5 separate regions of the Homo sapiens genome follow, and all the other regions are linked to region 5. The links are contacts of gene promoters, found by promoter capture Hi-C in blood cells and fetal thymus (Javierre and others, 2016). All regions are on one chromosome and are shown on one strand. Each heading gives the region's core, a stretch centred on a gene start or on the middle of the fragment in contact. The rest is flanking DNA. Distances are from core to core; before and after follow the strand shown.

What was found. Contacts are between HindIII fragments. The CHiCAGO score rates a contact against its expected background, and 5 or more counts as called.
Region 1: a fragment that was not itself captured here is called in contact with the fragment with the promoter of DEDD2 in region 5 in 3 of 17 cell types (monocytes, total B cells and fetal thymus); the score reaches 5.8 in monocytes.
Region 2: a fragment that was not itself captured here is called in contact with the fragment with the promoter of DEDD2 in region 5 in 3 of 17 cell types (total B cells, non-activated CD4 T cells and monocytes); the score reaches 6.0 in total B cells.
Region 3: a contact is called between a fragment that was not itself captured here and the fragment with the promoter of DEDD2 in region 5, in 5 of 17 cell types (neutrophils, fetal thymus, monocytes and 2 more). The highest score is 6.3, in neutrophils.
Region 4: the fragment with the promoter of PRR19 here is called in contact with the fragment with the promoter of DEDD2 in region 5 in 12 of 17 cell types (total CD8 T cells, total B cells, naive CD4 T cells and 9 more); the score reaches 12.0 in total CD8 T cells.

The regions. Positions count from the first base shown.
Region 1 is chr19:42,143,571-42,149,604 of GRCh38, forward strand. It overlaps a transcript of POU2F2 not described here. Among named protein-coding and RNA genes, the nearest start is that of POU2F2-AS2, 5.9 kb to the right of the region's middle. RefSeq lists an enhancer at 5,962-6,034. The HindIII fragment of the contact is 2,171 bases long and covers 2,050-4,220 here.
Region 2 is chr19:42,088,171-42,093,911 of GRCh38, forward strand. It overlaps POU2F2 (POU class 2 homeobox 2), which reads right to left. Exons shown (of 15, transcript NM_001394376.1): 12 at 5,659-5,725; 13 at 3,899-4,100; 14 at 3,697-3,770; 15 at 1-3,421. The coding sequence ends at 3,087. Among named protein-coding and RNA genes, the nearest start is that of ZNF574, 15 kb to the left of the region's middle. The HindIII fragment of the contact is 4,433 bases long and covers 1,248-5,680 here.
Region 3 is chr19:42,328,157-42,334,197 of GRCh38, forward strand. MEGF8 (multiple EGF like domains 8) reads left to right here. Exons shown (of 42, transcript NM_001271938.2): 2 at 5,449-5,612; 3 at 5,851-6,041. Among named protein-coding and RNA genes, the nearest start is that of MEGF8, 5.5 kb to the left of the region's middle. The HindIII fragment of the contact is 2,877 bases long and covers 2,720-5,596 here.
Region 4 is chr19:42,300,882-42,306,887 of GRCh38, forward strand. PRR19 (proline rich 19) reads left to right here and starts at 1,251. Exons shown (of 3, transcript NM_199285.3): 1 at 1,251-1,622. PAFAH1B3 (platelet activating factor acetylhydrolase 1b catalytic subunit 3) reads right to left here and starts at 1,743. Exons shown (of 5, transcript NM_002573.4): 1 at 1,351-1,743; 2 at 1,069-1,158. The coding sequence starts at 1,428. RefSeq lists enhancers at 1,218-1,267, 1,348-1,477, 1,430-2,084 and a silencer at 1,638-1,857. The HindIII fragment of the contact is 26,667 bases long and covers 1-4,756 here.
Region 5 is chr19:42,213,143-42,219,145 of GRCh38, forward strand. DEDD2 (death effector domain containing 2) reads right to left here and starts at 4,535. Exons shown (of 5, transcript NM_133328.4): 1 at 4,490-4,535; 2 at 3,538-3,903; 3 at 1,991-2,110. The coding sequence starts at 3,865. RefSeq lists silencers at 3,666-3,871, 3,953-4,012, 4,023-4,122 and enhancers at 4,894-5,770, 5,771-6,003. The HindIII fragment of the contact is 12,709 bases long and covers 1-6,003 here.

The DNA.
Region 1 (6,034 bases), core at 1,885-4,384, 71 kb before region 5:
CAAGCCTGGGAGGCCACAGAGAAGGCCAGCAAAGCGAGCCAGCTTCAAGATGCCTCATTCTGAAGGGCCCCTGCCCACCTCAACTCCTCTCTCCCCACCCCCTTCACTCACTTCCTCCAAGCTGTCTGCCTTTCTGTTCCTGCAATCCACGCCCGCGCTTCTTCTTGCCTCAGGACTTTTGCTCTTGCCCTTCCTCCTGCCCAGTGCAGTCCTTCCCCAGGTGTTCCTAAGGCTCGTCCCCTTACTTACTCCAGAATTACACTTAAACACCCCCTCCACAGAGAGGCCTTTTGACATCCTGTCTCACATGGCACTTCTCATCACTACGTCCTCTACCAGGTTGCACTTTCTTCTAGCACTTTTTGCTGTCTCACCTTCAAGCCTCGTGTCACGTGCTTGTTTATTACCTCTTTTCCCCCAAACTGAATGTTTATGCCAGCACAGGGAGCATGTGTGTCCCATTATGTCTCATCCTGTCTTTTAGAAGGATCCCAGGTGCACAAAATTGGATTAATCATAATCCTTGGTTCACAGCGTACTCCCATCACTGGGCTGGATGGAGCCCTCTTTCTCTATCCATTCACTTATTGTTTTACTTATTTTTAATAATGAGTTAATGTGAACCCACATTCACCATTCAGATTAGAACCATGATAATAATCATACTAGCCTGTGTCTGTCCTCTTCACTGCTGTGTCTCCAGCACCTGCAACCCAGGAGGTGCTTGGTATTGATTTATTGAAGAAGCTGACAAAGGGGCAATGACCTCCACACCCTGCAAAAGGGAGCTAATGGGAGTGCCCACCTGGCCTCACAAGGCGGGAGAAGAAGGCAAAGGCCAGGCCCTCCACTCAGTTCCCCTGTCCTCCCCTGGTGCTCCACTCCTGCTCAGCCTGGGCAAGCGCCTCTTCCACACGATTCAGTTCCACATCTTCAGGGAGGGCCCACTGTGCCAGACCTTGTGCCAGGAGCTAGGGACACAGGGTGGCTCAGCTTGGCCATGCTCCTGAGGAGCTCTCAAGCCTCGATGCTCCAGGCCCCTAGACCATCCCACTATTCTACTAAGTAACAAGAGCAGCTACATGGCACCTGCTCTGTGCAGGCATATGTTATGTGTATTCTTTGCATCATCTTTTGGCATCTTCCCAACAATTCACTAAAGCAGGGGCTGTTATTATCCACCCCCTTTTCAGAGGAGCACCCCAAGGCGGGTCAGAGAGGGCAAGGACTTGCCCAGACTCAGTCATGGGCAAGCCAATTCCAGAGCCCAGCTCTCCTTGCCCCAGGCCTTGCTGTTACACTGATCCCATGCACATTTCTCTTCCTCCAAAGTCTGTGAAGTCCTGGGCCTCTTGCATCTCTGCAAAAGCAACTGAGGATGGCTGAAAAGGTGTCAACTTTAGAGTCACATAAATAGGTAGTTAAGTCCCAGCTGTGGGGCTAGGTGTGGCCTATGTGTCACTTGGCCCATGTGTCACATTCCTGAGGGGATGAAATTAAAACAAAATGTGTATTTTTTACTTTATAGTTGAATGACACTGCCAGACCACACCACCAGTAAGATAGTATGCATTTTGTTTTAATAAATCCTGAAATGACCTTATAAATATCAGTTAACGTGGCATTTTATTGTTGTCATTGCTAAAAGCACAGGTCTGTAAATCCATTTCAGTATTCCTTCGTTCTTAGTACACTAGGAGGCTCAAGAATTAGAAGCTGCCTTGGCCTCTCTCAGCCTCTGCAAAGACTGCTGAGTCCTAGCTGTGCAACTTTGAGCAAACCACTCAGCCTCTCTGTGCCTCTCTCAGAACTGTGCGGACCCTGAGCAGCATCCACAGAGGGCCCTGCCTACAGAAGGTGCTCTACATTGATTCAGAGGAGTTTAACTTAACGGAACTGTATTAGCCCAGATCGCATGAGACACAGTGCCTGTCATCGTTGAAGCAAACTCTGAGCTCTGGACATTTGAAGGAAAGTGAGGGATCAAGGAAGAAGTCTAGGTTGTTGTTGTGACAACCATTTACTGAGATGGACACAAGCTCTTGGAAAAGCTTGGGAGAGGGAATCAAGAGTTCTGCTTTAGGCTGGGTGCAGTGGCTCATGCCTGTAATCCCAGCACTCTGGGAGGCCAAGGCAGGTGGATTGCTTGAGGTCAGGAGTTCGAGACCAGCCTGACCAACACAGTGAAATCCGTCTCTACTAAAAATACCAAAATTAGCTGGGCATGGTGGCACACACCTGTAATCCCAGCTACTCGGGAGGCTGAGGCAGAAGAATCACTTAAACCCGGGAGGCGGAGGTTGCAGTGAGCTGAGATTGCGCCACTGCACTCCAGCCTGGGTGACAAAGCGAGACTCTGTCTCAAAAAAAAAAGAGTTCTGCTTCCCAGGAGGTGGAGCTTGCAATGAGCCGAGATCGCGCCACTGCACTCCAGCCTGGGTGACAGAGCGAGACTCCGTCTCAAAAAAAAAAAAAAAAAAAAGAAAAAAAAGAGTTCTGCTTTAGACAAGTTAAAGAGAAGCCCTCCACCTACTATTAATATTTAGAAGCATTTTCTCACTGAATCTTCTCAATACTCTACAAAAAAGCATTGTTAACATCCCCATTTTACAGAGGAAAACACTGATGCCCAGCAAAGTTAAATCACTTGGCTGGAGACACAGATGGAACCAGGATTGGCACCCAGGAAACCGGACTCCAAAGTCCACATTGCCATCCACTGTTCTCTTCCTCTCCCTCAAACCCTTGCCCACCCTGTCCCATTGGCTCAGCAGAAACACTGGCCTTGGACCTGGGCTTTGCTGTCTGAGACATCCATGTATCTCCCATCCCCGTCCCCAGTTATGGCCTTCTGCCAATATGAACCATTCACTGAGTGCCTTCACATCACCTGCCCACCTTGATTCACAACAATTCTGGGATGCAGATTGCACAATGCTCCCCAGCTCCACTTTGTGGGGCCCTAGCAGATTCTCCGAGCTCATACAGAAAGACCAGCTGTGAGGGGAGCCAACACCTTCAAATCTACTCGCTCCCTACACCACCTTACTCAGAGCTCACCTCCTCTGTGGAGTCTCCTAAGGGAAGGCCCCCCCATTCACATCTGTGCAAGATCCCGGTCTGGCAAGAAACTTCTCAGTGCCAACCAGGCACTTTAGGGTTCACATGGAGAACATTAAATATAAGCAACCCAGGCATCTGCCTCATGGAGGCTTCCTGCAGCCTCCTAGGGAAAAAGTAGCACCTGACCTGGTAAGAGGAAAAGCTCAGGTTTGGAAGGGTCAGACTCTCACTCTCTGCTCTCCACTTCTTTGAGCCTTGATATTGTCACCAATTCCAAAAGCGCTGTCTGATTCCTCCACTCCTCCCACTGCAGTCCAGGCCACCACCACCTCTGGCCTGAGTGACTTCAGTGGTCTCCTCCCCGAAGGTGTCCCTTCTTCCATGCCTGTCTCAGATAGTCTCGTCTCCCCTTGGCCCCCAAAGGGGGTCTTTCTAAAACGTAACCAGGTGGTGTCACTCCCTTGCTTAAGATTCTCCAGGAGCTTCCCATGCATTTGGGAATAAAACTCAATCACCTTAACCCAACCTATAAAGTCCTATGTCATCTCACCCCTGCTGACACCTCTCATCTCTTCCCCCATCACTCACCTCTTTGCCTACCCTGCTCCAAGCCATGCTGTCTCCTCTCTGTTCTTTAAACCATGCTCTTTGCAACCCCAGGCCCTTCGCATGTGCCATTCCCTCTGCCTGGAACACTGTTCCTGTGCTCTTTGCCCCATTAAATCCTACTCGTCTTTTAAGGTTTGGCTTAAATAACTTGCCCTCTCTCCTGGCTCCCTATTCTAGTTTATTCTTTGGGATAGACTTATCAGTTCCTGATTTTGTATTTGATTGATGTTTACACTTAAAGATCTGCATCTTCTCTAGTTGTCAACTCCATGAAAATACACCATGCTGGTTCTGCTGCCTGCTACATCTTTAGTGCCCAACAAACGCTGGGCACATAGTGGGTGCTCAACAGACAGGTGGAATGAATGACTTAAATGGATCCTGCATAGGGACAAGCACCTGAGGCAGAGTACTTAAGTCTTCGAAGCCTCAGTTTCCACTTCTGTAAAATCAAGATAATAATTCCTCCTTTACAAGATAGTGGTGAGGATCCAAATAGTCAATGAATATTGACAGTGCGTTGGGAAAAAATCCTCTGCAAATACAAAAGCTTAAAGACCTGGAACCTAGAGGATGGGCAGGAGTCAGAGAGAAGAGCAACAGGAAAGGGCATGGCCATTTATCAGGTGACATTGTGTTTTGTATTTCCCCTTTCCCTGACCCCTATGAGGTAGTAGTTATGACCCAGAGGAGGAAATAAGGCTCAGACAGGAGAAGCCCCCTTCCCAGGGTGTCATGGTGAGTCCATGGAAGAGCCGGGATTTGTACCCCTCACACTGAGGCAGGCAAAATGGTCATTGCAGGAGAAGCATCCCCTGATCTCTTGCCCCCCTCTTCATCCTTCGCCCCCAAAGCCCTCACCTCTTTCCAGGTTTCCTGGTCTTGGCCTGAATCTCATACTCCTCAGCTGATCCTGCCAACCTCATCTCCACCCCAAGACCCACCCAGCCCTGCCCCAGCTGACACCTGGTTCTTGTGCTCACATCCTGGCCTTTCCCACATGGCCCAGAGGGACCTTTCTGTCTTCTATTAGGAAGGCCTTGTACTAATTGGAAAACTTTTGTTTGACGGTAATGCCAAAAAATTCATAACTAGTGAAAAGTAAGCACTGTTTCAGGCATAAGCAAGCATATAGCATGTGGGTAAATACGTGGGTCTGTACACGCCTTTGAAACACAAATGCCGTCTTCCCACATCAGAGGGATCTCTCTAACACAGAGATCCTCACTCCCCTCCGCAAACCAGGTAGCTGTGAGGCCAGAGGTGGGGAACTGTGAAAGCTGCACTAATGTAGACCTTGTTGGTGTTGGGTGGAGGTGACTGGTCCTAGGTGAAGGAGAGAGGCTTGGAAAGGACACCCAGGGTCATCCTGAGATCCTCCTCATCCTCCAAATGCCCCCATCTGTCAACTTCCCCTCAATTCAACCCAAAGATGTCTGAATCCCTCTGCTCCTCCGGCTGTGCCTCCCACTCAGGACTTGCTCCTCCCCACCCCACCCCACCCCAGCCTCTACTGTTGCACGGGTTCTTCCTCACTTGCTCCACAAATGTCCCTTGAATCCTGTCTGTGTGGCAAGCAATGAACCAGACACCAGTGATGTCACGGCCCCTGCTCTGGGGAGCTGACAATGGACATGGACCCAGGCGTCTTGAATCCACGCCCCATGTTCCTTAAAGCATGACCCTGGTTGGGCCTCGCTCCCACCCAGACCGAGAGGAAAAATCTTGGCACCCTAGACCTGCCCACGTCTGCAGCTTCACCTTCCCAAGCCACCATGAGAAGGAGAGAGGAGGGGCGACCATGTTCCCCAGCCTGAAGATCCTGCCCTCAACTCCCTCCCTAGGAGACAGAGGACCCTGGGCTTTCAAGGCAACATAATCCACAGGGGAGGCCGTAAACACCCTTGGAGTAGCTCGCTTTTCAGGGGAAACCAAGGCTCAGGGCCAGCATGACTTGAGCAAAGCCACACAGCGCGTCTGTGGCAGACAGATGGGCCCCACCCCTCAGTTCCCAGCTCCATCTCTGCGAGTGTAGACTTGTTTGAACTTCCCTAGACACTGACACTGCCAAGAGAAAGAAGAGGGGCTTAAGACCCTTTTTCTGCGTGTTCTGCTGATGTTCCAAGGACCTGAGCCTCCACTTCTTTCTATGGCTGTGGGAGGGGAGATGAACCAAGAGAGATGGGGCTAGACAAGGGATGTGGGGCGCAGGCAGGGTAGAAAAAGACAGAGTGAAAAGCATACAGCAGGGCAGAGAAAAGAGGGGTGTAAGGAAAGAGTAACTGGGGACTATCAAGGTAGAACAGAGAAGTGTATGGGGGTTTTTAAATCCCTGGAGGGAGAGGCAGCAATAAAGGAAAGA
Region 2 (5,741 bases), core at 2,214-4,713, 130 kb before region 5:
CCTCCCTCCTACCCCCTTCCCAATATTTGGTTTCACAGCTGTAGTTAAAGCTTGGGATTTGGTTATTTTTCCCCCTCCCAGGAATTTTTTTTTCTTGTTTTTCTTTTCCTAGGTGTGAGGGTTGGATGGGGAGGGTCCCCAGCACCCCCGGCTGCACAGGGGTCCCTCCACCAACATCAGGGCATCTGCCCCATCCCTGCCCCCTGCTCCTCCTCTCCTCTTTACCCCACTCCCACATACTGGGGTGGGGAGAGGTCCCAGGTGGTGGGACTTGATGGGGAGGAAGCAGGATGAAGTGGGTGGTGGTGAGTCCTGGATTTTCTTTCCTTTTTTTTTTTTTTTTTTCCTTTTTGGTCTAGAATCATAGTTTTTGTTTGAGTCATCTCCACCATGCCTTCCATGCTGCCTGTCTTCTCGGAGGGGGTTTTTGGTTGTAATTCCTTTCATTTTGCTCTGCTCAAATGTCCTTCCTATTTGGTCAGGAGCCCTTGGCCCCCTCTCCACCCTTGGGCTGGGGCCCAAGCCCTCTTGCCAGTCCCTTCTCTCTTCAGGAAATAAACATGGACAAACTCAGAGGTAGGGTAAGGGCAGGGAGTCGTTCAGCGGAGATGCTTACATTCCGGTGAGGTTGGGTAGACGAGGTGCCAGGCCCCATCGTGCCGGGGTGGGAGGGGCGGCTACTTCACCACTGCCCGGACAAGGCACCCAGAGGCCCCTGCAATGGCCGAGTCTCTGCTGCCTCCGTCGCCCAGCCCAACAGTTTCATTTCCCGGGTGGGAGAAGGGAGACAAGGAAAAAAGAGAACGCTGAGGCCTGGAGCTCCATCTGCCTCTCCTCAGAGTGTCCGGCAGAAAGTGGAAGCTGCCCAGGCCAAAGCCCTGCGGTCTCAGGGCTCTCCTCTCTCTCTGCTCCTGCCCAACAAGGGGCAGGGGCCACACTACGGCTGTCAGGCCCCACCCTGATTTCAATGGCTCGTGTCCTTCACTGCAACACTTTGGTTTGAGGAGAGACACAGAAAGAACAAGATTGAGAGAGAAGAGAGGAGAGCAAAGGGAGAGAGAGGAGACAGGAAGGAGGAGAGGAGAGAGGAAGGAGGGGAGGAGAGAGGAAGGAGGGGAGGAGAGAGGTCAGACAAAAGAGAACCGAAAAAGAAATCAAAGGAGGAATCAAACCACCCAAAAGTTGTTAAGTTTTCCTTCATCTGTTCTTTTTGCTTTCTTACTCCTTTTTTTCCTGTCTTTTTTTAAAGCTTTTTCAGTTGATTTGGGAGGGGAGTTTGGGGCTCTTCACCCCTGTCCCTGATACCCTCTCTCAGCCCCGCCCACCCGCTTCCATCTGCCCTGGCCGAGGGACAGGCCCTGCCCCAGCCGCCCCCTCCGGCTTTCCCAAAGACAACGTCCATGAGGTATTTGTGAAGAGAAAGAAGCATCCGTCCTTCCATCCGCCTTGGGGAACAAGGGCCTGGACCACCGGTGCAGGGGCTTGGCTCCGCCTCGCGGTTCCATCTTATTCTTGAAGAGTCCTCATCTTCTTTCCCTTTTATATATATATATATATATATGTTTATATATATATATAAATTTTTTTTCTAGTTTAAATTTATTGTTTGTTTGTTTCTGTTTTTTTGGTTTTCGGTTCAAAACTTTGTTGGCCTCCACAATAGCAGGAGGGCAGGGTGGCTCCCAGTGGTGTCTCTCCTCTGTCCGTCGTCAGTGGAGACGTGTCCGGGGCTGGTCAAACACAGGGTCCAGCCAAGAGTTGTGGAGGTCTTGTGGGAGTGGTGGCCACCACCGCGCCCTCTCAGATGGGGACCACAGGCTGTGGCACTGTCCCCACCACATGGACCCTGATGGGGATGCCATCTCGAGGAACCCCACCACTGGGGTGTGTGCGTGCGTGCATGTGGGGGGAGGGAGAGGCATTCGCCAGTACCAGAGGGGCACAGGGTGGGAAAAGCGAGGTGAGTTCTCTTTTTGGTTTCTGGTTAATGTCAAAGAACGTGAAGGATCCCACGGATAGGCACTGGAATATGAATTTTTTTTTTTTTCAGGGAAACAGACAGGATGGAAAAAGACAACTGAATGCCCTCAACTGAATGTCTTCATCCCCTCTTGCCTGAAATTTCCACCTTCCCATAGGCTGGGGAGGGAGTCAGTTCCAGAGCAGAGGAGGGTGACAGGGTTGAGGAGGGACTTGTGAGAGCTAGAACTTGGCAAAATGGCCTAGCCCACCCTTCAAAGGGGAAAAGAGGGAGGAACAGGGGATGAAAAGTTGTCCGCAGGCCTTCCCTTGAACTCTCCCCTGCTGGGGGGAGGGAGGAGGTTAAAGCAAGACCCCCTGCCCAGGTGGGGAGAGCTGGGGGCCAGGGGAGAAGGGGACACATGGTAGGGACACATTCTGTTGAGCACAATGCTAAAAATTCTGTACATCCTTTGGATGAAGCTACTGAATATTTGGTGTAAGGTTGTTCAGGCCCTTTCTCTTTCACCTTCTGGAAAAGAACATTTGGTGGGTGGTGCTAAGCCCCAGCCCATCTGCCCAGGCTGTGCCCTGTCTTCGCTGGCCCAGGGCTGGGGGCTGGGATTAGGAAGCTGGCATCTTCTCTTTTTCCTTCTGTAGCCCCCACGGGGGAGGCAGGGTTGGGGGTTGGTCCCACAGCCAGGGCTCGGTGGCATGAGGTCTGACCTGCTGGAGGCTTCTCCGCCCCTGGCTGGGGTTTTTATTTGGCGTCGTAGCAGTGAGGGTGAGCACGCTGAGGTCTGGCTCGCGACTGGTTTTTTGGTTTGTTTGATTTTGTGGGTTTTTTTTTTTTTTGGTTTGTTTTTGGTTTTTTTTTGTTTGTTTTTCACCTCTGGTTCCTTTGGGGCAGCTGGTTTCTGTTGTGATTATTTTTGGTTTTCTCTTTTGTTGGTTAGTTTCTTTCCTTTTTTTTTTTTTTTTTGGTTGGTTGTTTTTTTGGTCTTTCCTCCCTTGTCACTCCTGCTCTGAGGACCCTCTGCGTCCCCACCACTGGCCTCCTCGCCCTCTTCCCAGGCAAGGGACCAAGGCAGGGACCAGAGGAATGGGAGGGGAGGCATGGCTGGCCCTCACTCAGGTTTGGACCCTGCCTCGGGCCCCCCTGGACCTCCAGGGGTCTGTGCTGCCGTCTCGCTGCAAGTGGAGGAGGAGGAGGATGAGGATGAAGAGGATGAGGAGGAGAGGCCAGGAGACTTGCTGGAGATGGAGGCTGCCACAGCCGCAGCCGCTGCTGAGACCAGGCCCACACCAGGCGGGGTGCTGAGCAGGGGCAGCCCAGCATGATTCAAGAAGAGCGGCGAGGTCACCAGGCCAGGGCTCCCCGGGGCTGCACCGGCTGCCCCCAGCACCAGATTCCCGCTGCCATCAAGGCTGGTAAGGGGCAGGGTTCCACCAGAGGCCAGGGCTGGCGGGGAGAGAGAGAGGCTGGGCTAAGGGCATGCCGGGCCAGGGGAGACCTTTGCCTTCCAGCATCCTGCCCAGAGTGCCCCCCATCTCCCCATCGGTCCCACTGACCCCCATCAGCACCCCTCACACCTTCCCCAAAGGTGAGATGGGTATGAAGAGGCAAGCAATGCAGTGAGCAGGGGCAGGATGGCATGGCTGGAGCAGCAATGGCAGGGCTCGAGGCCCCAGAGGATAGGGCTGGTGACGATGGGTGTGACATGAGGCAGCACGCACCTTGGATAGTGGCCAAAGGGTTGTTGCTCATGAGGGCTGGACTCAGCCCGGAGCTCAACCCCACCATTGTGCTTCTGCAAGAGGCAAAGCAGAGGCATTAGCAGGGGCAGGGACCTGCCAACATAACTGGGGTGCCGCTCCCCACCCTAGAAGCAGCAGCGACCCTGCTTCTCCCCACAGCTTCCCACGTGCACCCACTTACCCCGTGCTGGGGTTCAGGCCTGACAAGCCGATAGCCGAGTGGCTGCCTTGAGGGCTGGGGTTTGTGCTGTTGGTGGTGGCCGGGGGTGGGGGAGTGACAGAGGGGATGGAATTGAGGGGGGGCGCAGCCCCGCCCCCGCCCCCACCCCCTCCAGCTGTCCGGCTGGGGTGGAGCGTCCCCACAGCTGAGGATAAGGTAGTAACTGCCAGAGAGAGACAGAAAGATGGGGTCTTCAGCTTCCACTCGTCCCCCACTGAGGAACCTGGGGTCAGCTCCTACTTGTCCTCCCGCCCAGCTCACGCAGCATCTCCTCAGTCAGAACAGCCTTAGACCTCCCTGCCCTCTCTTCCCAGAGTCATTTCCCTGTGCCTCTGCCATGGTGACCCCTGTCATAACAATGGAAGTCAGAGCAGGTGCTTCCTGCTGAGCCCTGGCACTCTACACTCCCTGCCCTGAACCACTTTTTTACCGACTAGAAACGGGGGTGCCCAGGAGACAAAGCCCTATGGCTCCCTCTAGGGGCTGGGGAGGGGCGAAGGGTGCCAGGCACACTGCCACATCTGAGGGATGGGCAACCTGGCAGGGGCTGAGGGCCCAGACTCAGCCAGACTGCTGGGGTAGAAACTCCTGGCTCTGTCTCATCCCAGTGGTGCCCTTGGGTGAGTGCCTTAACCTCTCTGACCTTCAGATCCCTTGTCTGGAAAATGGGGATAATAATAGACCCTATCTCATAAAATGAGTTTGAGAATTAAGTCAGTCAATGCAGTTTAGAAAGAGTTTAGTACAGTGCCAGGCAAGCACTTACTACTTTATAAATCTCCACTTACTATTTTCTAGCCTGGGGAGGGGCAACGTGTTGTTTTATGTGTATATATATTATGTGTATATATATTATGCATATATATATTATGTGTGTGTGTATATATATATATATATATATATTTTTTTTTTTTTTTTTTTTGAGATGGAATCTCACTCTGTCACCAGGCTAGAGTGCAGTGGTGTGATCTCAGTTCACTGCAACCTCCTCCTCCCGGATTCAAGTGATTCTCCTGCCTCAGCCTCCCGAGTAGCTGGGATTACAGACACACGCCACCACGCCCAGCTAATTTTTGTATTTTTAGTAGAGACAGGGCTTACCATGTTGGCCAGGCTGGTCTCGAACTCCTGACCTCAGGTGATCCACATGCCTTGGCCTCCCAAAGAGCAGGGATTATAGGCATAAGCCACCACACCCAGCGAATTTTATATTATTATTATATATATGGTGTATAACCATACATATAAACCTACCGTGTCCCAGGAAGAGGGAGGGGAACTCTGGATACAAGACTATGTATGTATGCATGTATGTGTGTATATGTACATACACATACACTCTTACATACATGTATTTATATCTTTTTATGTTTTACACATTCATAATAATTTAATAAAAACTGAGGCTTAGAAGGATAAAATAAGTGCTTGAATTCACACAGCTTAAAAATGACAGAGGCCAGGCACAAAACTCAAGTGCCTCACCTTTTACCAGGCCCATGCTTTTCTCATATGAAATCGTGAAGCAGATTAAAGCTGAGTTGCTCCTGCAGAGGAGGGGTGAGTCCTACCCTCTTCCCACTGTCTCTCCCATTCCCCCACCCACACTCCCCAGGCCCAGTCTTGAGGCCCATGGACACCCAGAGCCACTTGGGAACCTCAGGCTCCAGCCTGTGCCACATCCTCCCAGTCCCCCCTCACCATTTTCTGCCCTCCCTGACCTGTTGTGCTCAGACTGCTGGAAGCTTGGGACAACGGTAAGGTCCCCGCGCCCCCTTGGGGTGTGACCTGAGGAGAGAAGAAA
Region 3 (6,041 bases), core at 2,908-5,407, 110 kb after region 5:
AGGTGTAGGGCTCTGTGATTTTGAGCTGTATCCTGAGGGCAATACAGGGGTGAAAGAGAAGTTGAAAGGCAGTACCTGCAGAAGCCCAGGAAGGCCTCACAGAGTAGTGGATGTAAAAGCTGGCCTCCAGACAGGGGAGGTCCTGGGCAAAGGCCAGAGGTGTGACAGAGCCTGGATCATGCAGGGCCTCCCTTGGGAGGCTGTGGAGCTTTGTCTTTGTCTGGGGGCTCTGGGGAGCTATGGAAGGGTTTTGAGCAGGGAGAGGACATGATCTGATTTATGTTTTAGAAGATCTCTCTGGCTGCTGTGTGGGGTATGGATGAAGGCCTGTTTCTCAGTGATAGCATGTCTACCTGTTCCCAGCTTGGGGGCCATTCCTGTCAAGCTAGTGGGATGAGAACAGAATAGGAAGTGTGTGTGTGTGTGTGTGTGTGGCGAAGGGGTCTGTGTGCTGGATATAAATCACTCTCTGGCCTTAAAGAGTCCCAGACTGGTTAGGCCAGGTGCGGTGGCTCACGCCTGTAATCCCAGCACTTTGGGAGACCAAGTGGGGCGGATCACCTGACGTCAGGCTTTAGAGACCAGCCTGGCCGACATGAAGAAACCCCCTCTCTACTAAAACTACAAAAATTAGCCCTGCGTGGTGGCGCACATCTGTGGTTCCAGCCTGGGTGACAGAGCGAGACTCTACCTCAAAAAAAAAGAAAAAACGTCTCAGACTGGTTGGGAATGGTGGGGCTGGACACAGATATTCAGCCCCCAGTGTGTTCACTGAGACAGTGCTCAGGGCTAAGAAGGAAAGTGGAGGGGTGGGGTGGATGTACCTAGGGAGGAAAGAGGACTGTGCTGCAGATAACAGAGCAGGAGCCACTAAAATAGGGTTCTGAAGCATGCATAGGAGTTTATTGAGTGGGAAAAGGGAGCAAACAGCCTCTATGAAGACGTGAGGGTGGCTGGAGTGTCTCAGGATCCCCATCTAGGTTTGCCTGGTCTTATGGCACTTTTGACTGGGAGGTAATGAGAGCCAGAAGCAGGGGAAGAGGGGCCTTGAATGTCACACTGAGCAGCCTGGCCTTCCCCTTGGGGTTGATGGGCAGCCACAGGAGGTTTTGAGCAGGAGTAGGGCATTGCCCTCAGGTTGGGTGTGGGGCAGACTGGAGACTTGATGAGCTGATCTGGCAAGAGAGGATGAGTTCCTAACTAGGGCAGGGGCTTAGAGGGGTGGAGAGGTGTAGACAGTGCAATCGATGTTTGTGGAGTTTCACCTATAAGACTTGGGGACCAACTGGGTAGATGTTGGGGTGAGGGAGGAGGCTGGGAGACCTCCAGATCCCCCTTGATGATCTTCTGTTCTTACCAATGCCTGTCACTTCTTACCTATAAGAACCAACATCTTCCTCTATCTATTATAAAATAAACAACCAGCCAGGGGCAGTGGCACATGCCTGTAATCCCAGCACTTTGGGAATCTGAGATGCAAGGATTACTCGAGCCCAGGAGTTAGAGACTAGCCTGAACAACATGGTAAGACACTGTCTCTACAAAAAAATTACAAAAGATTAGCTGGGCTTGGTGGGTGGTGGCATGTGCCTATAGCTCCAGCTACCGGCGAGGCTGAGGTGGGCAGATCCCTTGAGCCTAGGAGGCTGAGGTCTCAGTGAGCCGAGATTGCGCTGCTATACTCCAGCCTGGGCAGCAGAGCGAGACCCTGTCTCAGGGAAAAAAAAAAAAAAAAGATAAACAACCAACCTACTAACTTTTGTATTATGTTCATACTTTATCTAGTCCTAGACTTTTTTTTTCCGAGAGAGAATCTTGCTCTGTTGCCCAGGCTGGAGTGCAGTGGCTTGATCTCGGCTCACTGCAGCTTCTGCTTCCCAGGTTCAAGTGATTCTTGTTCCTTGGTTTCCTGAGTAGCTGGGATTACAGGCATGTGCCACCATGCCGGGCTAATTTTTGTATTTTTAGTAGAGATGGTGTTTCTCTATGTTGGCCAGGCTGGTCTCAAACTCCTGGCCTCAAATGATCTGCCCTGGGATTACAGACGTGAGCCACCACGCCCAGCCCAGTCCTAGTCCTTATAACATCCTCATGGATAAGAGGCATCCTGCTTTTGAGCAGGAGGGAGTTTGGGATCAGATTTCTGTCTGGAGTGGTATGGGGGTTGGGTGGAAACAGAAGACCTTCAACTTAGGGAAGAACTTGGGGAGGCAGATGGTGAGCTGGCCTCCAGCAGGCACTTAACAAAGATGTACTTGTGATTCCAGAAACAGAGCTTTATAGTTTGGTTGAGGCTGGTAAGATTCTGGGAGGTCTGGTTGTGTGGCCGTGCTGAATGGTTCTTCTGCATTCCCCAAAGCATGGGTGGGGTCTGTGTCTGATGTCTTGGGGGCTCTGGTTAGAGCCTGAGGGAGAGCTTCCAGCTTTAGTATTCTGTCTTTTATGTATTTCTTCATTTCATCATCCAGCATTTCCTGAGCCTTTGCCAAGCCCGGGTCTGGGCAATGCTGCAGAGGGAATTAGGTCCACATCCAGGCCCTGCTCTATGGGCCTTGTAGGCTGCAGGGAGACAGACCTGGACATAGATGTTCCTGGCCCAGAGGAATGAAGGTTATAATGGGATGTGAGAACCCTGGAGAGGGGGCATCTAACCCAGCTAGGGGGCATCAGGAAGAGGCCTGGTGGTGGGAAGGGATAATATGTTGCAGACAGAGGGAGAAGCTTGTACAAAGGCCCAGCTCCCATTAGAGCTGTAAGCAGTGGGGTGATTTGAGACAAAGCGAGGGTCTGAACAGCAGGTTAGGGACCTGGACTTTCTCCTAGGGTGGTAGGGAGCCATGCAGGGCTTTGGGGCAGGGGAGGGACGGGGCCAGATGTTGAGTTGGGAAGATCAGAGACTCATGTCAGGGGAAGAAGGAGGTTGGATCAGTGGTTCTGGTGAGACAGGATGAGGCCGGGCAGCCAGGGCACACTCTGGCTCTAAGCTGGCAGGCTGGAGTCATCACCTCGTTGAATGTTCACCCCAGCCTTTGTGGGTGGGGGGAATTATCCCCATTTTACAGTCATGGAAACTAAGGCTCAGAGAGCCCATGGAACTGGCCCAGGATCACCCAGCCATTGGCAGTGGTGGCTGAGTGTCTCCAGGATCCAGATAGGCACACTGAGGGTCATGGGGGAAAGGGCTGGCCCAGGGTCCTCCAGCTGGTCATGGGCAGAGCCAGAGCCAGAGCCAGAGCCTAGGCCTCCTAATTTCCCTCACCCAGAGGACTCCCCTGAGCTGCCTGTTCAGAAGGCTTCTCATGTGGGATGTGGAATGAGAGAGGCTACCTGAACTAGGACTGGCAGAGAATAAGACAGTGACAGTGTTAGGGGTAGTGGCACTCTCCACGATATGTGGGCCCCATTGTCAACATTTCTTTTTTTTTTTTTTGAAACAGAGTTTCACTCTTGTCGCCCAGGCTGGAGTGCAATGGCATGATCTCAGCTCACTGTAACCTCTGCCTCCCGGGTTCAAGAATTCTCCTGCCTCAGCCTCCCAAATAGCTGGGATTACAAGCATGTGCCACCATATCCAGCTAATTTTTTGTATTTTTAGTAGAGACGGGGTTTCACCATGTTGGCCAGGCTGGTCTCGAACTCTTGACCTCAAGCGATCCACCCACCTTGGCCTCCCAAAGTGCTGGGATTATAGGCGTGACCCACGGCACCCAGCCTCTTTTTTTTTTTTGAGTCCCCTCTGTCGCCCAGGCTGGAGTGCAGTGGTGCAATCTTGGCTCACTGCAACCTCTGCCTCCCGGGTTCAAGCAATTCTCCTGCCTCAGCCTCCTGAGTAGCTGGGACTTGCACCACCATGCCTGGCTAATTTTTGTATTTTTTTTTAGTAAGAGACAGGGTTTCACCATGTTGGCCAGGCTGTTCTGGAACTCCTGACCTCAGGTGATCCACCTGCCCTGGCCTCTCAAAAGTGCTGGGATTACAGGCGTGAGCCACCCACCCCACTCTGTTGTCACCATTTCGTGTGCATTATTGCTCCTCATGAGGTTGCAGTCAGATGTCAGCTGGGGCTGCAGTCAGCTGAATGTTCACCTTGGCTGGACATCCAGGAAGGTCCCTCCCAGGGCTGGCAGTTGATGCTGGCTGTCAGCTGGAAGCTCAGTTGGGACTGTCAGCCGGAATGCCTGTGTGTGGCCTTTTCTTGTGGCTTTGGCTTTTCTTTGTTTTTTTTTTTGAGACGAAGTCTCGCTCTTGTCCCCCAGGCTAGAGTGCAATGGCACAATCTCGGCTCACTGCAACCTCTGCCTCCCAGGTTCAAGCAATTCTCCTGCCTCAGCCTCCCAAGTAGCTGGGATTACAGGCACCCGCCACCATGCCCAGCTAATTTTTGTATTTTTAGTAGAGACGGGGTTTCGCCATGTTGGCTAGGCTGGTCTCAAACTCCTGTCCTCGTGATCCGCCTGCCTTGGCCTCTCAAAGTGCTGGGATTACAGGTGTGAGCCACCGTGCCCAGCCGGCTTTGGCTTTTCCTATCATGACAGCTGTGTTCTGAGAAGGAGCATTCTACGAGGCCCAGGTGAAAAGTACAAGTCTTCTTATGATCTAGCCTTGGAAGTTTCAGAATTTCTGCTGTTTTTTTATTGGTCAAGCAAGTCACTAAGGCTCTTCCCAGATACGAGAGGCAGGGAATTAACTTTCAATGGCAGGAGTGGCCTATAAGTTTGATTCCACCACAGTACCACTATATCCCACTTTAGAGATGAGGAGACCGATCCAGAGGGGGTGGGTTACTTGGCCAAGATCACACAGCTGGTAGCTATTTGGTGGCAGAGCCAAGACATAAGCTCAGGCAGTCTGGTTCCAGAGTTTGTGCTTGTAACCATCACAATAAGCAGAGGTGAGACTCTGGATGGGGACAGAGGGGAACTATGCCGCTCCAAGGTTAGGCCTCTGTTCTGGGGGAAGAAGCTGGACTCTTCTCTTGCAGCTCTATTCAGCGTGGGCCAGGGGTGGTGTCACGGAGGTGCTCTTCTCACTGGGATTATGACCTTGACCCTCCAGCCTGGACATGTCTGAAACTCAGGCATGGACAGGAAGAGAGAGGCATCAGGAACACTGGATTCTGCTCTGTGTGGCCACTGGGATGGGGTTTTCTCTGTACTTAATTTTCCCATCTGAATGGTGGGAGTGTTCATTCTGATCTCAGGTGACCTTTCTAGAGGTCTGGAATATTATGATTCTTTCTCTGGGCTCCTGTCCCTCTGGCTGTCACAGCCCTTGACTGCCCTAGGTTATGAGACTGGGGGCCCCTTCAAGGCGGGGCCCAGGTCTGACTCATTCTTGAGCCCCCAGCATCACCTGGATCAGGGTTTGGTGTACAATTGTGGGAGGCTGCAGGGAGGTGTGGGGAGAAGGTCCGCTTTAGAGCTTGGTCCCTCTGTGCTCACCTCCCAGCCCCAAGCCCCCAGCACCGGATCCTGCTGGACTTCCTTTTCCTGGACACAGAGTGCACGTATGACTACCTGTTCGTGTATGACGGTGACTCCCCGCGAGGGCCGCTGCTTGCCAGTCTAAGTGGGAGCACCCGACCTCCGCCCATCGAAGCTTCCTCAGGCAAGGTTAGTGGGGATGGGGCCGTGGCAGATACACCGAGGGAAATGGAAGAAGAAAGGAGGGACAGAGAGTCAGTAAGAGGGCATCCAAGAGCAGAGCACAGGGACAAGGGAAGGTGGAGAGAGGCAAAGGAAGGAGATGAGGCTCTGGGTCCCCCAGGGTGGAAGGGGGCAGGAGTGGGCCACCCTCCCAGGACAATCCCCAGGCCCTGCCCACCTTACCCAGCACACCTTGTGCCCGCAGATGCTGCTGCACCTCTTCAGTGATGCCAACTACAACCTGCTGGGCTTTAACGCCTCATTCCGCTTCTCCCTGTGCCCGGGTGGCTGCCAGAGCCACGGGCAGTGCCAGCCACCGGGTGTGTGTGCCTGCGAGCCGGGCTGGGGGGGTCCTGACTGTGGCCTGCAGGAGTGCTCAGCCTACTGTGGCAGCCA
Region 4 (6,006 bases), core at 1-2,500, 84 kb after region 5:
TCGGCTCATTGCAATCTCTGCTTCCCAGGTTCTGGCGATTCTCCTGCCTCAGCCTGCCAAGTAGCTGGGACTATAGGCATGTGCCACCATGCCCAGCTAATTTTTGTATTTTTAGTAGAGACAGGATTTCGCCATGTTGGCCAGGGTGGTCTCGAACTCCTGGCCTCAGGTCATCCGCCTGCCTTGGCCTCCCAAAGTGCTGGGATTACAGGCGTAAGCCACCACACCCTGCCTAGAGTCTCTCACTTTAAACCAAGCCCCAGGCTCTGTTGCTCATGCTGAGGTGGGCGGACTGCTTGAGCCCAGGAGTTCAAGACCAACCTGCGCAACAGGGCAAAACCCCATCTCTACAAAAATTACAAAAATTAGCCAGGTGCATGGTGATGTGCACCTGTAGTCCCAGCTACTCGGAGACTAAGGTGGGAGGATCACTTGAGCCCAGGAGGCAGAGGTTGCAGTGAACAGAGATCATACCACTGCACGCCAGCCTGGGTGACAGAGCAAGACCCTGTCTCAAAAACCAACCAACCAACCAACCAACCAACAAAACAAACCAAGCCCCATAGAAGCAAGACTCACTTCATGAAAATCCAGTCTGCTTGAGCCATGCATTGAATCAATGGCATTACAGTTGAAACTTATTTTGATGAAACCCATTACAGTTGGACATGCTTTGTGGAAAGATATTATTATGATTGAGTCCTCTTTGTGGAGTGCCATTAGAGTTGCCCTTCGCTTCCTGTAAAGTGACTATAGCTTTGTGTAAACCCAACAGGGCTGCGCACTACTTAAAGCAAACAAGAAAGAGCCTCACTTTAGGCAAGCCTATGGCAGGAAAGCCTCATTTTAGGTCTTAGTACATTATACACAAATCCAATCTGATAAAACCAAGGCATACATTTCTTTCTCAATAGAATGTTGCACCTTACACCAAGATTCTCAGAGCCTCGGGCTGCCTGAGGCCAATCTGGGTACTCTCATAATACCTCACCTGGCCTGGGTTCTGGTCCAGATGTGTCAGCATGGACACAGGGCTGGATGGGGCAGGGGGAGAGGGACTGCCCTCACCTCGCACTGGTGCATGAGCTGGACCAAGGAGTCCCCGATGAAGACGACTTCGGGTTCCTTATCTTTGCTGTCAGCCACGAACCGATGGTGCTGCGGGAGCGCGCGAGAGGGAGTCAATGGCATGCACGCTCCAGGGCCCGCCCCGCCCTGCTCCCTTAGGCAGCGCCTCCTCAACTGCCCTCAGTTTCCCAATCAGGTAGTGAGAGTGGCACGAACCAGCCGTTCTCCTGAGCCACCCCCCGCGCCCCCGGACTCCTCAATATCCCAGGTGGGAACGCTCACCAGGGACATCCAGCGCCCGTCGCCCTGTACGTCCTGCACCGGCGTGGGCTTGCTGGCTGGGTTCTCCTCTCCACTCATCTTGGCGCCGCAGCTCCTGCAGGATGAGCGAGTCGGGTCGGCCCGGGAGTGTTCCGAACGGAGCTGGCTCCGCCACGCCCACTCCTACCCCTCGCGGCAACAAAGGACCGTCCCAACGCTAGCACACCCGCGGAGGACGAAGGCCGATACAGGGCGCCGCCTCCTCTCCAGGGACGGAAGCCTTCACTTAGGAGGTAGGTGGAATCAGGAACCTTCGCTTCCCCCACGACGGCCGCACAGTGGGCTCGCCCGGCGCTTCCCGCTCGGGCCGCTGACTCCCAGGCCGCGCACCCGGCACGGGGTGGGGGGAGGGAGAGGCGAGACCATCCAGCTCCCGAGGCGGGGAGGAGGGAGAAACCACCCACCGGTCACGGGGAGGGGCGAACTACCTGAAGAGTCGAGAGTGGGCGGGGAAAATCTAGCCCTCTGTCTAGCAAATGGGAAGAAACCATTTGCTGTACAGAGTGAAATGTGCGGAAGGGACCACCTACTGTTGCGGGGGGGGGGGTGACCCATTCACGTGGTGGGGGGAGGGGAGCGAGTGGACGAGTCCATTCTTATATTCCCTTGAAGGGGTGGCTCGAATGCACCTGGCTGGGGGGGACGCTCCTATTTTCTACTGATGTGGGGGACAGAAAAGGAAGATGACAAAATGTGAAAATTCGAGGCTCCCTTCTAAGGAGCCACTCTAAGGCCGCGCCAGGGCTTTAGTGAGCCTATCTACTCGTGGGCTTCCCCTACTCAAAACACCGTGGGTGTGTGTGTGTGTGTGTGTGTGTGTGTGTGTGTGTGTGTGTTGAAATCTAAAGTACATATCTTTGCATTCAAGACATCACAGGACCCCTACTCAAAACACCGTGTGTGTGTGCGCGCGCGTGGCATAACATATAAACTACATATCTTTGCATTCAAGACACCATAGGACCTGCTTGGAGGGTAGAAGAAGGTGCAGAAAGAGAAAGGAAATTAGAGACGCCTCCAGGGCTCAGGTCCAGTCTGGCGTCCCTCCGGCAGATCATCTTGCAGATCTGCAGCCTCTACACTCTCTCTAAACCCACAGGCCAACTGGGTATGTCTGAGCTCTGAAACCTACATCCATAGCCAAGGCCACCTAGGGTCGCGCCTCTCCCCCAACGCTGCCCCAAATTAATCTCAGACCTCAGTGTCTTCTCAGATCTCCCTCTTCTCTGGGACCAGGTGGGGGGCTCACTCCCTGCTAAACGTCCTGGTCATGTTCTTGTAGCCTCACTCCAGGTGGGACCTTCCCATGTATTCATTCCTTCGAGGTGGATTGATACTGAGACAGAGATGAGTGTTATTCATTGTGTTTATGTTTTCAATCCACTTTCCTGGAACTGGGCCGGGCACACAGTGGTTATTCCACAAGTGCTTGCTGAATGAGTAGTAAATGAGTGGGTCAGCTCCTGACCTTGTCCCAATGTGTTTAGGGAGACAGATCCAGACACAGAGGTGTAGGGGTGTCAAAGTTGTGTTTGAGGGAGAGACAGGGACCTCTGGGGAGGAAGAGGAGAAGGACTCTGAGGACTATGGGTTTCCTAGGAGTAGTATCTCAGCTGGGTCTGAAAGATAATGAAGAATGGGCAAGCAGAAAGAAAAGACACAGGTAATCACTTTCTTATTAGGTTTGGGGAATATCGTGGAATAGCTTGATTTTAAAGTCTGAGGGAGGCCAGCATGGAGGCTCATGCCTGTAATCCCAGCACTTTGGGAGGCTGACATGGTCGGATCACTTGAGGTCAACCAGCCTGGCCAACATGGCGAAACCACGTGTCTACTAAATATACAAAAAAAAAAAAAAAATTAGCTAGGCATGGCAGCACACGCCCGTAGTCCCAGCTACTTGGGAAGGCTGAGGCAGGACAATTGCTTGAGTCTGGGAGGCAGAGGTTGCAGTGAGCTGAGATCGCGCCACTGCAGCCCAGCCTGGGCAACAGTGGCCCAGCTTGGGTGACACAGCGAGACTCTGTCTTAATTACAAAAATAAACAAACAAATAAAGTCTGAGGGAGCCAGGTGCAGTGATGCATGCCTGTAGTCCCAGCTACTGGGGAGGCTGAGGTGCGAGGATCGCTTGAACCCAGAAGTTTGAGACCAGCCTGGGTAACACAGTGAGACCCTGTCTAAAAAAAAAAAAAAAAAAAGGCTGGGCGCGGTGGCTCACGCCTGTAATCCCAGCACTTTGGGAGGCCGAGGTGGGCAGATCACGAGGTCAGGATCGAGACCATCCTGGCTAACACGGTGAAACCCCGTCTCTACTAAAAATACAAAAAATTAGCGGGGCGTGGTGGCAGGCGCCTGTTGTCCCAGCTACTTGGGAGGCTGAGGCAGGAGAATAGCGTGAACCTGGGAGGCAGAGCTTGCAGTGAGCCGAGATGGCACCAGTGCACTTCAGCCTGGGAGACAGAGCGAGACGCCGTCTCAAAAAAAAAAAAAAAAAAAAAAAGGGCAAGTGCCTGTAGTCCCAGTTAGTTGGGAGGCTGAGGCAGGAGGATAGCTTGAGCCTGGGAGATGAGGTGGCAGTGGCCCATGATGGTGTCACTGCACTCCAGGTTGGGTGACAGAGTGAGTCCCTGTCTCCAAAAAAGAAGTCATAATCAGCTAGGCACGGTGGCTCACTCCTATAATCCCAGCACTTTGGGAGGCTGAGGTGGGCAGATCACTTGGCGTCAGGAGTTCAAGACCAGTCTGACCAACATAGCAAAACCCCATCTCTATTAAAAAATACAAAGATTAGCTGGGCAAGGTGGTCTGCGCCTGTAGTCCCAGCTACCTGGGAGGCTGAGGCAGGAGAATCGCTTGAACCCGGGAGGTGGAGGTTGCAGTGAGTTCAGACTGTGCCACTGCACTCCAGCCTCAGTGACAGATTTAAATTCCATCTCAAAAAGAAAAGGAAAGAAAAGAAAAGAAAAGAAAAAAGTCTTAATTATGCCTTCAAGTCAGTGATATAAGAGAGAATTTTTTTTTTTTTTGATAGAGTCTCGCTCTGTCGCCTAGGCTGGACTGCAATGGCGCGATCTCGGCTCACTGCAACCTCTGCCTCCCAGGTTCAAGCGATTCTCCTGCCTCAGCCTCCTGAGTAGCTGGGACTACAGGCGTGTGCCACCACGCCCGGCTAATTTTTTGTATTTTTAATAGAGAAGAGGTTTCACTGTGTTAGCCAGGATGGTCTCGATCTCCTGACCTCGTGATCTACCTGCCTTGGCCTCCCAAAGTGCTGGGATTACAGGCGTGAGCCACCATACCCAACCGAGAAAAAAATTTTTAAAAATAAAGTCTTAGAGGATAAGTTGGAGCAGTTCCTGAAGCAAAGCTTAGTGAGAAACAAAGCTTCCAGGCATTCTTCATTCACCAGGCCCATTTCAAGTTAGACATATTGGTCTAGTTTATCCTTCTAGCAACCAAATGAGGAAGGTAGTTTTATTACCAACCCAATTTTACAGGTCAGAAAACTAAGTCTGACCAGTTACAAACATTTCCAAGGTCACACAGCCCAGTTGTGCCATTTTGGGCATTTAAACCAAGCCTAGCTATGAATCACAACACTACACTAACTTTTTTTTGAGATGGAGTCTTTCTCTGTCACCCAGGCTGGAATGCAGTGGTGTGATCTCGGCTCACTGCATCCTCCACTTCCCAGGTTCAAGCAATTCTCCTGCCCCAGCCTGCTGAGTCGCTGAATATACAGTCGTGAGCCAATGCATGTGGCCTAATTTTTGTTCTTTTACAGGGTCTTGCCGTCTCCCTCAGGCGGGCGTGATCATGGCTCACTGCTGCCTCCACCTCCTAGGCTTAAGTGATCCTCCTGCATCAGCCTCCCAAGTAGCTGGGCCCACAGGCAAGAGCCACTGCGCCCAGCTTATTTATTTATTTAGAGACGGAGTCTCGCTCTGTCGCCCAGGCTGAAATGCATCTCGGCTCACTGCAAGCTCCGCCTCCCGGGTTCACGCCATTCTCCTGCCTCAGCCTCCCGAGTAGTTAGGACTACAGGCGCCCGCCACCACGCCCGGCTAATTTTTTGTATTTTTAGTAGAGACGGGGTTTCACCGTGTTAGCCAGGATGGTCTTGATCTCCTGACCTCGTGATCCGCCCACCTCGGCCTCCCAAAGTGCTGGGATTACAGGCGTGAGCCACCACGCCCAAAGCTAATTTATTTTTTGTAGTCAGGGTCTCCCTATGTTGTCCAGGGTGGTCTTGAACTCTTGGGCTCAAGCCAGCCTCCTGCCTCTGCCTCCCAAAGTGCTGGGATTACAGACGTGAGCCACCACGCCCGGCCAACTGTATAAGTTTTCTAGGGATTATGTCTGTGGCTGCTTGGGGGACAGCTGTGCATGGGGGCTACCATGACCCTTCTTCCCTTTGGCACGCCTGGTCTCAACTAGCCCTCGAAAGACCGCTGATAGCTATCTGAACCAATCAGCATTCAGGAAGGGGGCGGACCTAGTGAACCTCACAGCCAATTGAGGGCTGGGAGGTGCTGAGACCAAGAAAGGGAGATTTCTGAAATTGAGGCTGGGAGGGGAGGGGCTATAACCGGCGCTTCCCTGGCACGCGCCGCTA
Region 5 (6,003 bases), core at 3,285-5,784:
GACACAAGAGGCTAGCCAGTTGGAACTGCAGGAAGACTGACTGACTGTAACAAGTCAGTAAATAGTGTATGGGTCTATAGTGACACTCAAACTCAAAGGGGCATTGGGGGAATACCTCTTGAAAGAGAAAGAAAAAAGAAAAAGAATTAGAAAAATCACCATTTTGCAAACACCAATGTGATAACTGGTTCAGGCAAAGCTCATAGATGTGAAACCCACTGAGTAAATGGCTATTAGGGAACAGGATATGCCAAAGTATCACCCCATAGACTGTTTACTAACCATGAGAACTAAATGTCCCTTCACAATGGACAAACATGGCAGATATCCCCTTAACCAAGTGACCAAACTTTCCCACATCGGAAAAGCCAGGCCGTACATGCCTGGAGATGTACTCCAATATGAACTAGATGGCAGCAACCAAGGATTATTCCTGCTAAAGATGTATAAACTGAATCTAACCAAGCCTCAGACACAATTCCCATTTAACAAAAAATGTAAGGGAAAGAGGGACGAGTTACATAACTCCATCAGGAAAAAAACAGACAGATAAAGAAACAATCAGGACATTCTACAAAACAACCGGCCTGCTAGGGTGAAAAAATCAATGTTACAGGAAAAAGAAAAAGGTATGGGGTGTAGGGGCAGTTTCTGTGCTATAGCAGGAGACATAACAACTGAATGCATACCAACTCAACTATGAATAGATTCTGAACGGTCCCACAGTCTGGGGATTTTTGAAAATGGACCATTAGAATGTCAGAGAATTCGTGTTTATTTTCTTAGGTATAATAGTCTTAAAGTGGTACAGGAGAATATCCTTATTCTCCACGGATGCCTAATTTAGGGGTAAAGCATCCTGATGTCTGTAATTTACTTTCAAAGGGTTCAACAAAAAAATCCAGAATTACGTATACACATAAAGCAAAAGTAGCAAAATCTTAACAATTATTGAACCTAAGTGGAAGATGTTAACTGTACTAATCTTTCAACTTGTATGTTTGAAATTTCACATAATAAAAAGAGGGGTGGCCAGGGCGCAGTGGCTCAAGCCTGTAATCCCAACACTTTCGGAGGCCCAGGTGGGCAGATCTCTTGAGGCCAGGAGTTCGAGACCAGCTTGGGCAACATGGTGAAACCTCATCTCTACTAAAAATACAAAAAAATTAGCCAGGCATGGTGTCATGCGCCTGTAGTTCCAGCTACTTGGGAGGCTGAGGCAGGAGAATTGCTTGAATCTGGGTGGCAGAGGTTGCAGTGAGCCGAGATTGCACCACTGCACCGAAGCCTGAGTGACAGAATGAGATTCTGCCTCAAAACAACAACAACAACTAGAGGTGGCTGGCATGATGGCTCATGCCTGTAATCCAGCACTTTGGGAGGCTGAGGTGGGAGGACTGCTTGAGGCTAGGAGTTCAAGACCAGCCTGGACAACAAGGGGGAGACCACACCTCTATAAAGGATGAAAAAATTAGCCAGGCATGGTGGCATACCCCTGTAGTTCTAGTTACTTGAGAGGCTGAGGTGGAAGGACAGCTTGAGCCCAGGAGTTCAAGGCCGCAGAGAGCTATGATTTCATCACTGCACTCCAGCCTGGGTGACAGACCAAGCCCCTATCTTGAAAAAGCCAAACAGAAAAAAACAAAAACTGGGGGTGGTGAGAATAAATAAGTTAATTGGGGCATGGCAATTAAAATAATACAATTAGAGATACTCAGCATGAATAAATCTCAGACACATCTAGCAAAGACAGCCAGGTGCAGAGTAATACCCACAATGTAATGCCATTTAAACGAAACACGAAACTATGTGCAACAATTCTGTATGTTGCTTCAGAACAGAGTATCTGTAGCAATAAACACACACACACACACACACACACACACACAGTGAAAATGAGACAGAATAACCCCTCAGGCCCCTTCCTTGATGGGCACAATTCATAAGGAAAAGAGGGATGCTGCCATTACACCCACCCAGCTGGGCTCACCTGTCTCCCACTGACCCTGCTGAGAATTTGCAGAACTGCTTGACTGCCGACGGCGACGGCAGCTACCCTCTGTCCTCTTTGAAGAGCTGGAGGTGCCATAGCTATAGCGTTCTGGAGACACTGGAGGAAGAGAAGAACAGGAAGAAGCATTCAGCCTCCTGGCCCTAATTCCCACCCCTGGAAGAATGCCTGCACCACGAGGTGCCTAAGTTCCCCAGTAGTCAGAGCCCAAATACCCACTCATTCTCAAACACCTCCTGCAGAGGTTGCTCAGATGCCTCCTAAGAGAGAGAACTTATCACGACTTGGGGCAATCTAACCCACGTCTACGGCAGCTCAAACTGTCAAGGTTATTCTGTTGATAGTCATGGTAAGGGTCCCTGTAATGGCCCTTTGCCCTGGCATCAACTGCCCCCAGCTCTCCCCAAGGAGTAAGCAGGCCTCTGTGCAGGCTCCCCAAATCTTCTCTTCTAGAGCGTGATCTTCAGACATAGATATCCAAAAATGCTGTCAGCTCTTCCCTAGAGCTGTCCTTCTCCTGCTTATCTAAATCCTGTGGGCTTACTCTGGGTCAGGGAAGGCCATAATCCCCCCTCCCCAAACTAGCCACTGCCCCTTTAGTAACCCAGACAAAGGCTTGGTCTATTCATGCACACGGCTACCGGCAGCCTGAACCCCTCCCAGCTTCTCATGTGAAGGCTGCTATCCTCCAGGAGCACTTCCTTCACAAGGATTAAGGGCATCAACTCTGGGGACAAGTTGGCTAGGTTTGAATCCTGGCTCCCACACTTCCCAGCTACGTTCTCTGCAAGCCCCTTCATGACATAACTTCTTACCTCCCTCTCTTCCCTAGCTTGGGTCCCCTCTGCTCCTGCCACACTGGCCTCTGATGATGCCAAACTCATTCCCACCTCAGGCCTTGGATGCTCCCTGGGATTTTCTCCCCTGGGGTCTATGCATGGCTGGCAGTGCAGCCTCAGGGCAAAGCCTCCCTTCACCTTGCTGCTCTCCTGACTCTCTCTATTCCATTACTTTTAGTCTTCCTACAACAGCGTCTAAAAATAAGTTCTCTTATTATCTGATTGCCCCCACTAAACTTAAACTTCATGGAACAAACACCTTGTCAGCTCCATCATCCTGTATCCCTCCTAGGCCCAGCAAACAGGATTGTTATTATACGTGCAAACTGCTTAACTTCTCTGAACTTGTTATTTTCTTGGTTACAGTGAAGACAGTAACAGGACTTCCTTGTGAGATTACTGGGAGACTATAAGGCACTAGTTCATATGAAGGGCTGACAGCTGTGCCTGGCATGAAACAAGCCCTCCGTAAACAGTGGCCAAAATCATCATCACTGATGTGGCCAAATTCCCAAAGCCATGCTTTCTTCCTCTTATGTTGCTCATTGATATTGTGGGAAGAGAGAGTAGCAGAATGGGACATAAGCTGCCTGATATGGCACTGTCCGTATCAGGGCACCAGGGAGGCCCAGCGGGAGCCAGGCCCTTTCCTCCCAGGAAGTGTGACACCCTCCCATTCAACCGTACCTGGCCGGCGCCGCTTGCGCGCCAGGTGCGGCAGCAGGTCGTGGCGGGCCAGCACGCGCAGGAGTTGCCCCAGCAGCCGCAGGTTGCTCTCGTCGCACTGCCCGCGGCGCTCCAGCTCCAGCAGGAGCTCTAGGCCGCTGCGGGCCCGGGCTAAGCCTCCGGCGGCGCCAGGAGCCTCATCCAGCAGAAAGGCCAGGAGCTCCAGCTCGCACTCGGTCAGTTGCCCGCCCACCACCTCGAACATACGGTGAAGCGACAGCATCCCGTAGTAGTCCAGGCACTCATCCTCCTCCCAGCACGGGGCCGGGGTCGACCCGGATAGCGCCATTCCCGGGGGAGGGAGGCGGAACAAGCTCAGAACCCGGCCTAGAACCCACACAGCGGGGAGGGGGCAGTGGTCAGCGACGCGGAGGCCCGAACCCCACACCGCCAGCGCGTCTCCCCCGCCCAATCGCGCCGGGCAGGGCCGCTCCCGCACCCCCAACCGCCTCGGCCTCCCCCTCCCCCGGGAGGGAATGGTCCCGCCCGAGGTCCCCTAAGAACAGGTCGGGACGCCGGAGCCCGCTCGGCTTCTGCCCCCACCACCGTGCTACGTTCGGAGCTCGCCTCCGGACCTGACCAAACGATGCGGCCCAAACAAGCCTCGGGGCCCACCCCGGGGCTCCCTGCTGACTGCCCCTGACTCTGGGTAGGACTGCCCAGACGAGCCCCTTTTCTCCGTCCAGCGGTACCGTCTGATGAGTCCCCCGGCTCTACGCAAGTGGTACCTCCCGAAAGTGACCCTCTGCCCCCTACACAGAGGAGCGACCCAGGCAGCCCCTTTGCTCCACACAGGTGGTACCGTCCGAACCCGACCCCCTCGCCCTGCAAGGGCGGCCCCGCCCGCTCCCCAGAGCCCAGGTGGTCCTGTCTACCCGCCACCAGTCACCATTAGGCCTCTCTGGATCCTCACCAGATTCTGGCGTCCGATGACTCCTGGGCGACGGCCGCAGCCACTTGTTTTGGATCTTTCTGGCACCTTCTCTATTATTACGCCTGCGTCACCTCGCCCCTCCTCCTTCCCCCAACTCGCGCAGGTGCGACCGCCACGCCCCTTCGGCGCATGCGCAGAACGAGGCCTCCAAGCCCCGCCCTTCCTGGGCCGCTTGACCTGCCCCCAACCGAAGCATCTTGGTTCGCGAGTGCTGCGCTTGCGCAGAGCGAGAGCACGCCGCCTCTTGGGCTGTATCTGGTACCCGGTTCCAGGTCCCTACTTCCTGCCCGTGACTCAAGCCACCGGGGCCATGTAGCGCCACGTCACGAGTAGTTGTAACTACTCATCTCATAAACTACAGCCCCCTCCTGATCACGAGCTAGACGCCCACATCACCACTGCCCCTAGTTGCCCGTGGCAAAGTAACACAATCACTACTTTCCCGTCTCCCAGTAAACTCCCAGGCCTTATATGATCTGGTCCTGGGCACTCCTCCATTAGATTGTCCCTCACTTCTAGTGACAACCAGGGATCTACATCTCAACTGTGCTCTCTCGTGATCCCAAATGGAAATCCCGCCCCCCCACCACCACCCCCGCAGTCTATAAGTTCCTTCCCCTGATCAAAACCAGAATTCCCTCATCTCACGTTCAGGACGGATACCTCCTTCCAAGCGGCAACAGAACCCTCCATTCCGACTGTGTACATCTCGATGGCGTCCATCACGACCCCCATCACAGTCAGATGTCTCCACCCAGAGCCAAAACGGCCCCTCCGTAACCCCTTCCAATCTCTGCCCTCCAGGGTCGCCCAGATACCCGCTCCCTAACTTGCAACAACTAGAGAGGGTCTGTCAGGGAGTCTAGGCTGTGGTGTATGCGTGTCCCCTTACCGCGGGGCCTTGGGTGTGACGGTCGCCACGCCCCCCACTTAGGTGACTCAAGGTCAGGACCTGCATGTACTTGAGACAAGTCCCCTCCCTGGACCTCTTCCCACCCCCGCAATTAACTCCTCTTGGGAGTCGGGAGATCTGGGTCCTGCCTAGCACTGGCCCAGTACTGGCTCTGCCTGAGCTGTAGCAGTGAATTCAAAAGAATCGGCTGCGCGCGGTAGCTCACGTCTGTAATCCCAGCACTTTGAGAAGCCGAGGTGGGCGGATCACACGAGGCCAGGAGTTCGAGACCAGCCTGGCCAACATGATGAAACCCTGTCTGTTCTTAGCCGGATGTGGTGGCACGCGCCTGAAATCCCAACTACTTGGGAGGCTGAGACAAGAGAATCTCTTGAACCAGGGAGCAGTAAGCAGAGATAGTGCCACTGCACTCCAGCCTGGGCCACAGGGCGAGACTTTGTCTCAAGAAACAAACAAACGCCAGGTGCGGTGGCTCACGCCTGCATTCCCAGCACTTTGGGAGGCCGAGGCGGGCGGATCACCTGAGGTCGGGAGTTCGAGACCAGTCTGACCAACATGGAGAAACCCCATCTCTACTAAA